Regions from separate parts of the Homo sapiens genome. Here regions 1, 2 and 3 are each linked to region 4. Evidence: promoter capture Hi-C in 16 types of primary human blood cells and fetal thymus (Javierre and others, 2016). All regions are on one chromosome and are shown on one strand. The core of a region is centred on a gene start or on the middle of the fragment in contact, and the rest is flanking DNA. Distances in the headings are between cores, read along the strand shown. Region 1 overlaps LOC107984708 (a long non-coding RNA gene). Region 2 overlaps FBXO34-AS1 (FBXO34 antisense RNA 1). Region 3 has its middle 21 kb from the start of FBXO34. Region 4 holds the start of ATG14 (autophagy related 14).

Evidence for each region. Contacts are between HindIII fragments. The CHiCAGO score rates a contact against its expected background, and 5 or more counts as called.
Region 1: a contact is called between a fragment that was not itself captured here and the fragment with the promoter of ATG14 in region 4, in 7 of 17 cell types (activated CD4 T cells, non-activated CD4 T cells, erythroblasts and 4 more). The highest score is 7.4, in activated CD4 T cells.
Region 2: a contact is called between a fragment that was not itself captured here and the fragment with the promoter of ATG14 in region 4, in 11 of 17 cell types (non-activated CD4 T cells, erythroblasts, activated CD4 T cells and 8 more). The highest score is 10.8, in non-activated CD4 T cells.
Region 3: a fragment that was not itself captured here is called in contact with the fragment with the promoter of ATG14 in region 4 in 3 of 17 cell types (activated CD4 T cells, non-activated CD4 T cells and total CD4 T cells); the score reaches 5.5 in activated CD4 T cells.

Annotation. Positions count from the first base shown.
Region 1 is chr14:55,212,957-55,216,007 of GRCh38, forward strand. All of the region lies in intron 2 of LOC107984708 (a long non-coding RNA gene), which reads left to right. Among named protein-coding and RNA genes, the nearest start is that of DLGAP5, 23 kb to the left of the region's middle. The HindIII fragment of the contact is 4,492 bases long and covers 1-3,051 here.
Region 2 is chr14:55,266,872-55,269,949 of GRCh38, forward strand. All of the region lies in intron 1 of FBXO34-AS1 (FBXO34 antisense RNA 1), which reads right to left. Among named protein-coding and RNA genes, the nearest start is that of FBXO34, 3.0 kb to the right of the region's middle. The HindIII fragment of the contact is 217 bases long and covers 1,663-1,879 here.
Region 3 is chr14:55,248,678-55,251,683 of GRCh38, forward strand. No RefSeq gene overlaps it. Among named protein-coding and RNA genes, the nearest start is that of FBXO34, 21 kb to the right of the region's middle. The HindIII fragment of the contact is 8,647 bases long and covers 1-3,006 here.
Region 4 is chr14:55,410,181-55,413,328 of GRCh38, forward strand. It overlaps ATG14 (autophagy related 14), which reads right to left and starts at 1,650. Exons shown (of 10, transcript NM_014924.5): 1 at 1,422-1,650. The coding sequence starts at 1,642. It also overlaps a transcript of FBXO34 not described here. RefSeq lists a silencer at 1,640-1,939. The HindIII fragment of the contact is 5,042 bases long and covers 1,066-3,148 here.

The sequences.
Region 1 (3,051 bases), core at 188-2,687, 200 kb before region 4:
GAGTTCTCTGCCTCCTGCCTCTATCAGTATTCTCATGTCAATGCCAGGCTGCAATCATTTTTTTCTTTATATGCTAAATATACAAGTAGAAAATTATAGAATCAATTTAACTGTAAACATGTAATGTCATTATGTACATGATCTTAAATTATCCTTTTGGAAGATAAGTCTTTTTCTTTTTTAGTAGAAATATTAGGTCCTCTGTTTTCATTGTTAACCACATCAGAATCTGTATTATTACTTTTTATTTTGGAAATCAATTGCAGTACAGCAGGCTTACCATATGGTGGCACCCAAAAGCCCAGAAACCAACATCATGCGGCCCAGTATTAGACATGTGTTCAAAAATGTAGGCAGTCAGCTTTCTAGTAGGTAGCAACAGGAAATAAAGCGTCGTAAGACAGTCATCTTAAGAGGGTGCTGGAAATGTTCTACATTTTTATCTGGGTGGTGATTACATAGGTGTATATGTAAAAATTCATAAAGCTGTATTTTTATTTGTTCATTTTATTATTTGTATGTTGCACAACAATAAAAAAATTTAGGCTGGGCACAGTGGTTCACTCCTGCAATCCCAGCACTTTGGGAGGCCGAAGCGGGCGGATCACTTGAGTCAGGAGTTTGAGACCAGCCTGGCCAACATGGTGAAACCCCGTCTCCACTAAAAATACAAAAATTAGCCGGACGTGGTGGCGCGTGCCTGTAATCCCAGCTAGTCAGTAGGCTGAGGCACTAGGATCGCTTGAACCCGGGAGGCAGAGGTTGCAGTGAGCCGAGATCATGCCATTGCAGTCCAGCCTGGGCGACAGAGCAAGACTCTGTCTCAAAAAAAAAAAAAAAAAAAAAAAAAAAAATTAAATGACTATAAATGAGAACCATTTTATATAAGCCATCTTAAATTTTTCCCTATTAATGAAAACAATAACAACAGATTTTAGAGAGTACTAAATATTAGCAATTTTCCTGCATAGTATGAAACTATTTTATGATAGTTATTTTATTATTTTATTTTTTCTTTTATTATTCCCATTTTACACATGATATAGTTATTTGGGCTCATTTCTATACATTTAAAACATTAAAAAATTGTCAGTTTAAGTTAAAACTGTACCATCAGCGCATAACAGTACAATGGATGAATAAATTATGGGCACAATCACATATTGGAACATTTTTATACAAAAGAAGAATTAAAGAACCACAGCTGCATGCATTGACATGGATAAACTGCCAGGCACGGTAGCCCATGCATGTAATCCCAACACTTTGGGTGGCTGAGGTGGGAGGATTGCTTGAGCCCAGGAGTTTAAGACCACCCTGGGCAACCTAGTGAGACCCTGTCTCTAAAAAAAAAAAAAAAAATTAGCCAGGTGTGGTGGCATGTGCCTGTGGTTCCAGCTACTCTGCAGGTTGAGATAGTAGGATCACTTGAGCCTGGGAGGTTGAGGCTGCAGTAAGCGGTAATCATACTGCAGTACTCCAGCCTGCGCAACAGAGTGAAACCACGTCTCAAAAAAAAAGGACACGTTTTATAAACACAGTGTTGGGTGAAAGAAACAAGTCACAAAGATCACTTACATAGAAACTTTTGTATAAAGTTCAAAAATAGTCAAAATGAACTATATTGTTTATGGATGCATATATAGGTGGCAAGCCTAAAGAAACACCAGACAGAATGATTATCATAAAAGTCAGGATAGTGGTTACCCCTTAAGGGGAAGGAGAATGATGCCATCCGAGGAGAGGAACACAGATGGCTTCTAAGGTACTCGCATAGTCCTTCTATTGCTATATTTCTGGCCTGGCGCGGTGGCTCATGCCTGTAATCCCAGTACTTTGGGAGGCCAAGGCAGGTGGATCACAAGGTCAGGAGTTCGAGAACAGCCTGGCCAATATGGTGAAACCCCGTCTCTACTAAATATACAAAAATTAGCTGGGCATGGTAGTACATGCCTGTAGTCCCAGCTACTTGGGAGGCTGAGGCAGAAGAATCGCTTGAACTGAGGAGGCGGAGGTTGCAGTGAGCCGAGATCATGCCACTGCACTCCAGCCTGGGTGACAGAGTGAGACTCTGTCTCAAAAAAAAAAAAATAAAAATAAAATAAAATAAAAATATACATATTTCTTAACTTGAGTGGTGGTTACACGGGGTCTTACTTTATAATTGCTCTTTAAGTATAAAAGAGGCAGATCTAAAAGTAAAATTCCAACAGTCAGGTATTTTGTAGTCTGGAAAGTCCGTGGTATTACCCTTTAGCCAACTAAAAATTGTCATAGGCCCTTAGAATTATGTGTAAGGTTGCCAGATTTAGCAAATAAAAATACAGAACTACAGTTAATAAATATTCAGGGTTGTGAGTTGAATGTTAACTTCAGATAAAGAACAAGTTTCTAGTATAAGCATATCCTCATGCAATATCTGAGACATACTTATAATAAAAAACAAATCATTGTTTACCTGAAATTCACATGTTACTGGGCATCCTGTATTTTATCTGGTGACCCTAGTTATATGGCAAGTTGCACAAGCAGAAGCAGTTCATGGTGGCCCAGTGTAAGGAGTACCCAGAGGAGGCTCAGGGAAAGGGAAGAGAAGGAAGAAAAATCTTTAAGTAAATTAGCCTGACCCTAAGTTCCTATCTGAATAATTGTGTAAATGAATTTGCTGGCCAGGTGTGGTGGCTCATGCCTGTAATCCCAGCACTTTGAGAGGCCGAGGCAGGCAGATCACCTGAGGTCAGGAGTTCGAGACCAGCCTGACCAACATGGAGAAACCCTGTCTCTACTAAAATACAAAATTAGCAGGGTGTGGTGGCGCATGGCTGTAATCCCAGCTACTTGGGAGGCTGAGGTAGAAGAATCGCTTGAACTCGGGGGGCGGAGGTTGCGGTGAGCTGAGATTGTGCCATTGCGCTCCAGCCTGGGCAACAACAGCGAAACTTCATCTCAAAAAAAAAAAAAAAAAAGAATTTGCTGAGTTCAACCATTATTGCAGTAGTTCATAGTAATGAATCTCCATGATGCATTGAATAATTTATATCAACAAAAAGC
Region 2 (3,078 bases), core at 521-3,020, 140 kb before region 4:
CCCGGGTTCACGCCATTCTCCTGCCTCAGCCTCCGGAGTAGCTGGGACCACAGGCGCCCACCACCACGACTGGCTAATTTTTTGTATTTTTAGCAGAGACGGGGTCTCACCATGTTAGCCGGGATGGTCTCGATCTCCTGACCTTGTGATCCACCTGCCTCAGCCTCCCAAAGTGCTGGGATTACAGGCATAAGCCACTGCGTCCGGCCAGAATTTCTCCTTTTATATGCTATCAGAAGTGAAATATGGGCACAGTGACTTATACCTGTAATCCCAGCATTTTGGGAGACTGAGTTGGGAGGATCATGTAAGCCTGGGAGTTTGAGACCAGCCTGGGAAACATAGGGAGACCCCATCTCAACAACAATAAAAAATTAGCCAGCCACAGTGGCGAGCATCTGTGGTTCAAGCTACTTGTAAGGATGAGGTGGGAGGATCACTTGAACCTGGGAGGTCAAGGCTACAGTGAGCCGAGTTGGTGCCACTGCTGCCTAGCCTAAGTGACAGAGCAAAAACCCTGTCTCAAAAAAAAAAAAAAAAAAAGAGAGATACCTATGGAAATTGTGTGGCTCACTGTATTGACAGTGTAGAAACCACCTTCTGAATGTTCTGAGGGCAATACTGTGGGGATAGGAGGATCTGGGACCTTGATTTGTTTCCCATCCATTGTACTGGAAGGGCTGCCCTTGCTCTACATGTCTCTTACACCGCCCCACCATGAGAGTGCAGATCACTATAAGATAAGTTAATCTAAGGAACTTTTAAAAAAATTAAAATTATCTTCTAAACTGTCTGTATATATCAGGGTGTGCTTTTTTACTTCTGCTAAGAGTCTCCAAAGAGACTCTTGATTTTTAGCTCTTATCAGATTTTCACAGGGGCACAAGATCTAAAAAGAAGGATAAGAAGGATAAGAACTATGATTTCCTGGGTTTCAATACTTATTCAACTTTATGTCCCTCACCATCCACATCTTAATTATAAGATAGAATCATATCTGTTAGACAGTGTGCTGCCTTGGTGCTCTAGTTTTCCCTGAGTTGTTCTATTTATTGTGGATAATATTTATATTCTCATGGCTGAGTAGCTCCTGCCCATCCCCCCGTCATCACCAATGAGCTTCACACATGCATAAACCTGGGCATAAGCTCAGGGCTTGAAGCATGCTCCAACGGCCACATTCCAGGCATATTTTTTAAGTACATGCTTTACTTTTGCAAAGTTGAAACTTTTAAAAGCACTTCTGCTTCTCTTTTCTTATTTGGTCTTTATAATAACACAGTCAAGTAGGTAGGGAAAGGCATTATCACACCCAGCGGCCTAGGTTCTGCAGCAAAGTAGGTCTAGATGCAAAGTCTAATGGAGCCTGTCTCTTGGTTTCCTTTCTCCAGCAGCGGGGAAGTAAGTTTGATAAGGAGGGTTGGGGGGTGAGAGAGAGAAGATGAAATGGTGGGTGTCCTAGTCTGTTTTATGCTACTATAACAGAACACCTGAGACTGGGTCATGTATAAAGAACAGAGATCTATTTCTTACAGTTCTGGAGCCTGGGAAGCCCAAGGTCAAGGGGTTCATAACTCTTGAGGGGCTTCTTGCTACATCATCCCATGGTATAAGGTGGAAGAGCAAGAGAACACCTAACAGAGTGAGAGATAGAGAGGGCCAAGCTTGCTTTTATAGTAACTCCCTCTCTTGATAAGTAATCCACTCCCTTGATAATGGCATTAATCCATTCATGAGGACGGAGCCCTCATGACCTAATTGCTTCTTAAAGGTCCCGCTTCTTAACACTGTTGCATTGAGGATTAAGTTTCTAACACATAAACTTTGGGGGACACGTTCAAACCATAGCAGTGGGTGTTTTTATTTGGAGGTTGGAGTAAGCTTATTAAGGAATAAGCAGTAAGTTCTTAGTTTTTTTTTTTTTTTTTTCTGAGCAAAGAACAGAAATGAAACCAAGTCTATACAAGACAAATCCCTTGAACTGAGTTTTAATTAATATGTTTGCTGGCTTGAAACAACTAAGTTTTAATTACTAATGGAATAACCAAATATATATACTATATATATTTAGAACTTTTCTGCTGCTGTGCCACCTCAGTCTTGTTCTTCTTTCGGCTCTCACCAGTCCCATGGCCTCAATGTGCCACCCCATGCCCACCTGGGGAGCACCTTCCTGAAGACCTACCACAGGACCTGTGGGTTGATAAACTATACTGGCTCTACTGGCTTTGCTTCTAGGGGATCATTGCCATTATACAAATGGAGAAACAAAATCAAGGGAAGTTCTTGCCTAACATGGTTATGCTCTCTCCTAGTTCTTTTCTCCTAGACTGGGGCTATTTAAAGTGTGGTTCACTGGCCAATCTGAGACAAGAACTGAAATTGAGAATCAGATTTTAGAAACTTTACTAGCAATTTGACAGAATAATTTTATGTCTGTGGACTTTAATAATCAATAATTCATAGGCTAGGCATGGTGGCTCACTCCTGTAATTCCAGCTATTTGGGAGGCTGAGAAAGGAGGATTGCTTGAGGCCATGAGTTTGAGACCACCCTGGGCAACATAGTGAGACCCTGCCTCAAGAAAAAGATGAAAAAATATAATAATTAATAGTTCGGGCTTTTATTATGTCTTTTAAAATTAATTTCATTTTTATATCAATTTTTTGAGTCCTCTAATCAACAGGAATCAAGTTTTGTTTGTTTTTTTTTTTTTTTTAGATGGAGTCTCACTCTTGTCGCCCAGTTAGGAGTGCAGTGGTGTGGTCTCAGCTCACTGCAAACTCCACCTCCCAGGTTCAAGCGATTCTCCTGCTTCAGCCTCCCAAGTTGCTGGGACTACAGGCGTGCCCTGCCACACCGGGCTAATTTTTGTATTTTTAGTAGAGATAGGGTTTCACCATGTTGGCAAGGCTGGTCTTGATCTCCTGACCTCAAATGATCTGCATGCCTTGGCCTCCCAAAGTGCTTGGATTACAGGCGTGAGCCACCATGCCCAGAAGGAATCAAGAGGTTTTAAGAAGGACAGTGTTTGAGATGAATCTGAAAGGATAAACTGAAGTTTTACAATTTTGAGCT
Region 3 (3,006 bases), core at 132-2,631, 160 kb before region 4:
TGCTCACTGCTGACCCTCTTTGTATGTCTCACTTTCAGATTCCCTGAAAGAGGATTAAATTGGGCCAGTTTATCCTTCTCTGTTCCTATTGGGCAGAGTTCTGCTACAAGCCATCTTAAATGGCAATGCTTTGCTTTATGTCCAGTCTATAGATGAGCAGCTTTGTCCTGAGTAGCCAGATCACATGAGACAAGTACGGCAACTGTCATGAACATCTGTCATTCGCAGCTGCCCGAAATCTTCCAAATAGTCTATCTTCGTTATCATAGTTCCTCAGTAGAAATCCTGCCTTCTCAATGTAGAACCCCAAACTCCCTTTCCAAGATTTCCTTCTTGTTAGGGTGCATACGAGTGATGTAGATTCCACTACCTAGACTCAAGCATTTGTTTCAAGATGGAGTTACATGGGGAAGGAGGGAGAGTACAGGGCCTGCATTTTGCAGGTGCAGATCCTGGCAAAGATGGTGTGGTTCTGGAGCCGGTGAAGTGAACCACAGAAACCAAAGAAGCAATGGACATTCACATCTGCACTTACTCTATATCCCAGTTCCAGATAACTTTTTCTTTCTCTGAGGATGAGGACTTCATGGAGACAAAAGGCCATCAAAATAGTTGCTGACATCCTGCAGCCAGAGAAAATGTTTCAAAAATGCAGATTGGATCATTACCCTCCAAAGACTTTCTTGTGCCTCTGCTATAGCCAAGGGAAGTCAGGAGTGAGCTCTCCTGTTGTTCTAGGAAGAGGATGAGAGACAGGTAAGGCAGGTCCCAGTGCATAGCTAGGGCCAGCATACATCACTGACTCCCAGCTGACCGAGAGATACATTGAGCTTGCCCAGCCCAGCCCACATCAGCTGACCCCCTGCTGACCCCAAAACACATGAGCAAGTCCAGCTGAGATTAGAAGAGCTGCCCAGCTTAGCCCAGATCAGCGGACCTCCGGGTAACCCTGGGACACATGAGCAAAGCCAGCTGAGGTCAGCACACTTACTCATCCCTACCCAGTTAAAATCAACCAATCCCCAGCTGAGCCACAGTTTCATTGTTAACAAGATAGAGCTACTCATTGAACTGGACCAGTCGTGGCTCCAGGACTGGAGACTGGCACTTTTCAGGTGCCACATTGAAAAGATGCTCAGGTGGCCCAATACTCTTGCCTCTGTGAGAGAGAGGAGATCCCTCCAGCACTCAATACCCCCTCAGATTATTATTTTGAACAGCAGCAACCTGAAGGGCTTCTGTCATCAAACATTTCACCCCACATGCAGGAAACATGTGAGAATTATTAATTATTTCCATGATCACAGTTGGACTCCACATTCTAGAAATGTGAAGACTTTGAAAGTACCACTTGCTTTGTCCTTAGGTTTTTTTTGTTTTGTTTTGTTTTGTTTTTTTGAGGTAGAGTCTCACTCTGTTGCCCAGGTTGGAGTGCGGTTGTGAGATCTTGGCTCATTGCAACCTCTGCCTCCCGGGTTCAAGCAATTCTCCTGCCTCAGCCTCTTGAGTAGCTGGGATTACAGGCATGCGCCACCATGCCCGGCTAATTTTTTTTTTTTTTTGAATTTTTAGTAGAGACAGGGTTTCACCATATTGGCCAGGCTGGTCTCGAACTCCTGACCTTGTTTTCTGCCCTCCTCAGCCTCCCAAAATGCTGGGATTATAGGTATGAGCCACCGCGCCCTGCCTTATCCTTAGCTTTTTAAAGTTAAAAGTAGTGAAGTAAGTTGAAACCATTTGTATGACTCCTCCAGTAAATTGCCCCATTCACATTCAAAGGCTAGACAAAAATCAAGGAGGGAGCTGAGAATGGGGAGTTTTCTTTGACCTTTGTGGCAGAATAAAGCCCTCATGGCCTCGGAATGAAATATGTACTCAGAAGAGGAAGAGCTTTTGGCCAGCGTTTTATGGGCTTCCCTCCCCTGCTTCCACTGAGGTCTGTGCCTGTTGCCAGCTTCTGGTTTGGTTCTAGGTGCAATGCTCACTGGTGCTCTCTGCATCTGATGTGGCTGGCAGTGTCCTGGCAACCTGAGGGGTTCAGAGTGATGGTGATGATGCTGTGTCACACCTGTCCTGGGGACACTGTGCCAGGTGGTGGAGGCATAACCAGGTACCTCATCCCAGGCCCAGGTCCTCATGGATTGCTGTGGAAAATGGTGGTATTCCTAGTCATATTTCTAATTATTAGAAGTCTACTTTATGCAAGTAGAGACAAATAACTGGCCACTTTTGCCCTTCTGGAGAAAGACATTAAATATTTTACAATCTTAACCTCATTCAGAAGAATTTTAAAAAGGCCACTATGGCTGGGTGCAGTGGCTCACACCTGTAATCGCAGCACATTGGGAGGCTGAGGTGGGCGGATCACGTGAGGTGAGGAGTTCGAGGCCAGCCTGGCCAGCATGGTGAAACCTCGTCTCTACTAAAAATACAAAAATTAGCCGGGCATGGTGGCGGGCACCTGTAATTTCACCTACTTGGGAGGCTGAGACAGAATTGCTTGAACCCGGGAGGCGGAGGTTGTACTGAGCCAAGATTGTGCCACTGCACTCCAGCCTGGGCGACAGAGACTGTCTCAAAAAAAAAAAAAAGGAAAGAAAAGGCTAAATACGTATGATTCCAAGTATATGACATTCTAGAAAATGCAAAATTATGGAGATGGTAAAAAGATGAGTGGTTACCAGGGATTGGAGGAAGAGGTGTGAATAGTCAGGACACAAAGAAAGGACTTTTAGGGCAGTGAGGCTATTCTGTACAATACTGCAACGGTGGATACATTCCATTAAACATTTTTCAAAACCCAAAGAATATATAACACCAAGAGTGAGACCTAATGTAAACTATGGACCTTGGGAGATAATGATGTATCAATGTAGGTTCATCAGTTGTAACAAATGTATCACCGTAGTGTGGGATGTTGATAGTGGTCGAGGTTGTGCATATGTGGGAACAGGGGTATATGGGAACTCTCTGTACTTTCTGCTTAATTTTGCTGCGAACCTAAAA
Region 4 (3,148 bases), core at 400-2,899:
GCCATATTAAAATGAAGATATCTATTACAAATCTAAAAATATTGATGTTGAATAAGCAGCTGTTTTCTGGACTTTAGAGAAGACTAGGTTGGAGATACAAGTCTGGCAGTCTTAAGCATATAGATGGTATTTAAATTATGTGAATAGACATAGTAAAACGTGTAGACAGACAAGAAGGTCCAGAACCAAATCCTCGATTCACTCCATCAGTTAGACATTTCCATCTCATACCCCGTATTCTTATAACTGGTTTAATTTTTAAAGCTATCACTTACTACATAAGCAGTTTCTAAAGTCATCAAGAGCACCAATAAGACACAGCAACAAAACTAAAAAAGAGTTTGTCATTCAAACCTCCTCAAAAGAGAAAGGAAAGAACTCCATCCACGATCACAGAAATACTAAGAACTCAAAACATTCCCAAATATAGAGGATATAAAGTCTAGTGGTTAAGTGCGGGTACATAGGTCCAAGCTGTCTGAATTTTAATTCTTGTACCAACACTTAACTATTTGTGTGACCTGGGGCAAAGCACTTACTGTGCAGCTTCCTAATAAGTTGGGGATAAGTCATTCGGTTGTTGCGAATGAATTAATACCTGAATTTTTGTGCTCAGAATGCTAGCTATCTTACTATCATTGACTATCATTGACACTAAATTGTTGAAACATAAGTTGAGAGTGGGAGATCCTGCAGCTAATCACACTAATTTTTCAATTTTCTTAACCAAGAACTTGTAGCTGTTTAGATTTCGAAATGAAACCAAAACATTTTCCTAAAGGCAATTCTCTTAACTAAAAGCATGCAGCTCCCAATCTGAATTTTAAAACAAGGCCAAAACACGTTCCCAAATTCCTAAGAATCTAAAATAATCTTTAGAGGCAGGGAGGGGAAAGGGGCGTTAACAGCAAGCCTCAATTCACACATTAGAGTAAGCATGTCTGATAACAAAGTCCATCTGTGACAGACTACCAGGCCCAAATCCCTCTAAAGCAGTTATTTGATTCTCTTCTACTCTCTCCTCTAGAGAATGAGTATAAATATGCTTTCGAAAATAGAAAGCCAAGCTTTTGAATGGGAGTACATACAGCAAAGAGCTGGGAATCTAACTTAATGGCAGCAACGGGAAAACTTCTCCAGAGAGTCACCACTTATTCCTTTTTTCCCCAGTGACCAAGAGCACCGTGGGGTCAAACTCCTCTTGGGTGGGTGATGGGGAAACGGCGACCTTCCCTCATCTGGCCCCTACGCTGTCCTCTGGTAGCAAAGCTCCGGTGCAGAGCAGCTAGCTACACTCCCTCTCTCTCGCTCCTCTCGCTGGTATCTGGTGCCCGGACGGGGAGCCCCAGGTTCCAGCCTTCGGCTGCCTGGCTGGAGGACACACAGCAGAAGAAACAATAGGGCCGTGGCGGCCGCCGTACCTCTCCCGGTCGCGGCCGTCGAAGTAGACGAAATCGCCGCTCTGAACGCATTTGGCGCAGGTCAGCCGCCGGCGGGTAGTGTTGCACAGCGGGCAGCGCTCCACAGCCACGTACAGCCCCTCCGCATCGTCCACGGAGTCCACCAGGTCCCGGGCGAGCGGCCGGGGCCCGCAGCCAGGAGCCTCCAGCGCCCGGGCTCCCTTCCCACTGGGAGACGCCATGATGGCCTGAGAGGAGAGCCAGTCACGTGGGATTTTGTTTTCAACCGGGTGCATTCTGGGCCAGGAGGAGGGGCCTGGGGAAGGGGGGCTGGGATGCCGGCGAGCCCCCGGACCCCTCCGCCGCCGCGTGTTCCTGTCCCGGGCACTGTTGTTTTTCCGGTCTGCTGAGGGGCAACAGGTCCCGAAGCAGGGGGAGAGTTATATTAGAGGGGCTAGTCGGCCAAACAAAATGTCATCTGCTGGCTCAGGCCAAGACTACGAGTTAAAGCCTCAAACTTGTGCAGAAAATTGTAATACCATACCCTAAGGATTCTGGGAAAACGGAATGGGAGCGGAATAAGGGAATTTAACTTGCTGTGGATGCTTTAAAATCTGGCTAAACTACAGCAAACAAAGTAGGGTGAAGGGGCTGGGTCTTGGAACTAGGTTGAATTTTGGCTCACTCACCTGCTTAATAGCTGTGTGACTTGGGGCAAGTTCCTTAATCTCTCTGCGCCTGTTCTCTCGTGTTAAATGGATAGAATTATAGTACCCATCTAATGCCGTGAGGATTAATATGGTTAATAGTATTATACTTTACCAATAGTGAAAACAACCAAAGTGAACGTGCAAAATCAGAATTGTATCCTTCTGAAAAGTTAATCACGTGGCTAACGTACCTTCCCTACCCTGGGCCATGCTCTAAGAGAATTTGAACTAGGTAGATGGTTAGGACTTCCCTTCAAGTTTCTTTTGGTGGATAGGGGATATATAAGGTGATGTGTTGGGAGGATCATATCAGAGTAATTAGTGTTTGAATATGCCTCTAAACTACAGAGAAAAGTGAGTTTATAGGTGAGATTAAATAGACCAGTGATTCTCAAGGATGATTTTACTAGGCTATCTACTGATAAACTGCCCTGAATTCTCTCTCTAGCCAGGATTCCTTTCTCAAGTTCCATACCCAAAGATCCAGAACTACTTACTAGGTATCAGGTGACATTCCAGGACACCACAAACTCAAAGTGTTGGAAACTGACTTCTGCCTCCCTACAAACCTGTTTTCTTACTTTGGTAAAGGACGTAATCACTGATGATTTACAGCCAAGAGCCATGATTCATATTAGCCCGTCCCTCCCTGTTAATCTCCACATCACCATCGAAAACTGGTGATTCTACAAGCTAATTAGGTCTTGAATCTGAGCCCTTTGCTCCTCCGTCTTCTTAATCTTACCCAGTCTTTTTAAATACAAATCACGTAGGATTACAAAAACAAGCAAAAGCAAAAATTCTCTATATTCAGAATACAGTTTACACTAAACTTGAATGGTTCCTGAAAGTTTAAGATTTATTTTTAAGTGAGAAGTCTTTCTCTCTGATCATTTCAAACAAAAGGATTATTTTTTAAGGTCTCGGGCTTATGTTTCATTTGTATTCAGACAGGATCCTTCACAGTGCTTAATACCTAATGATCAGGATCAACTGTTCAATATTTTAAAAGGCAAAAAATACACATTAATTCCTATC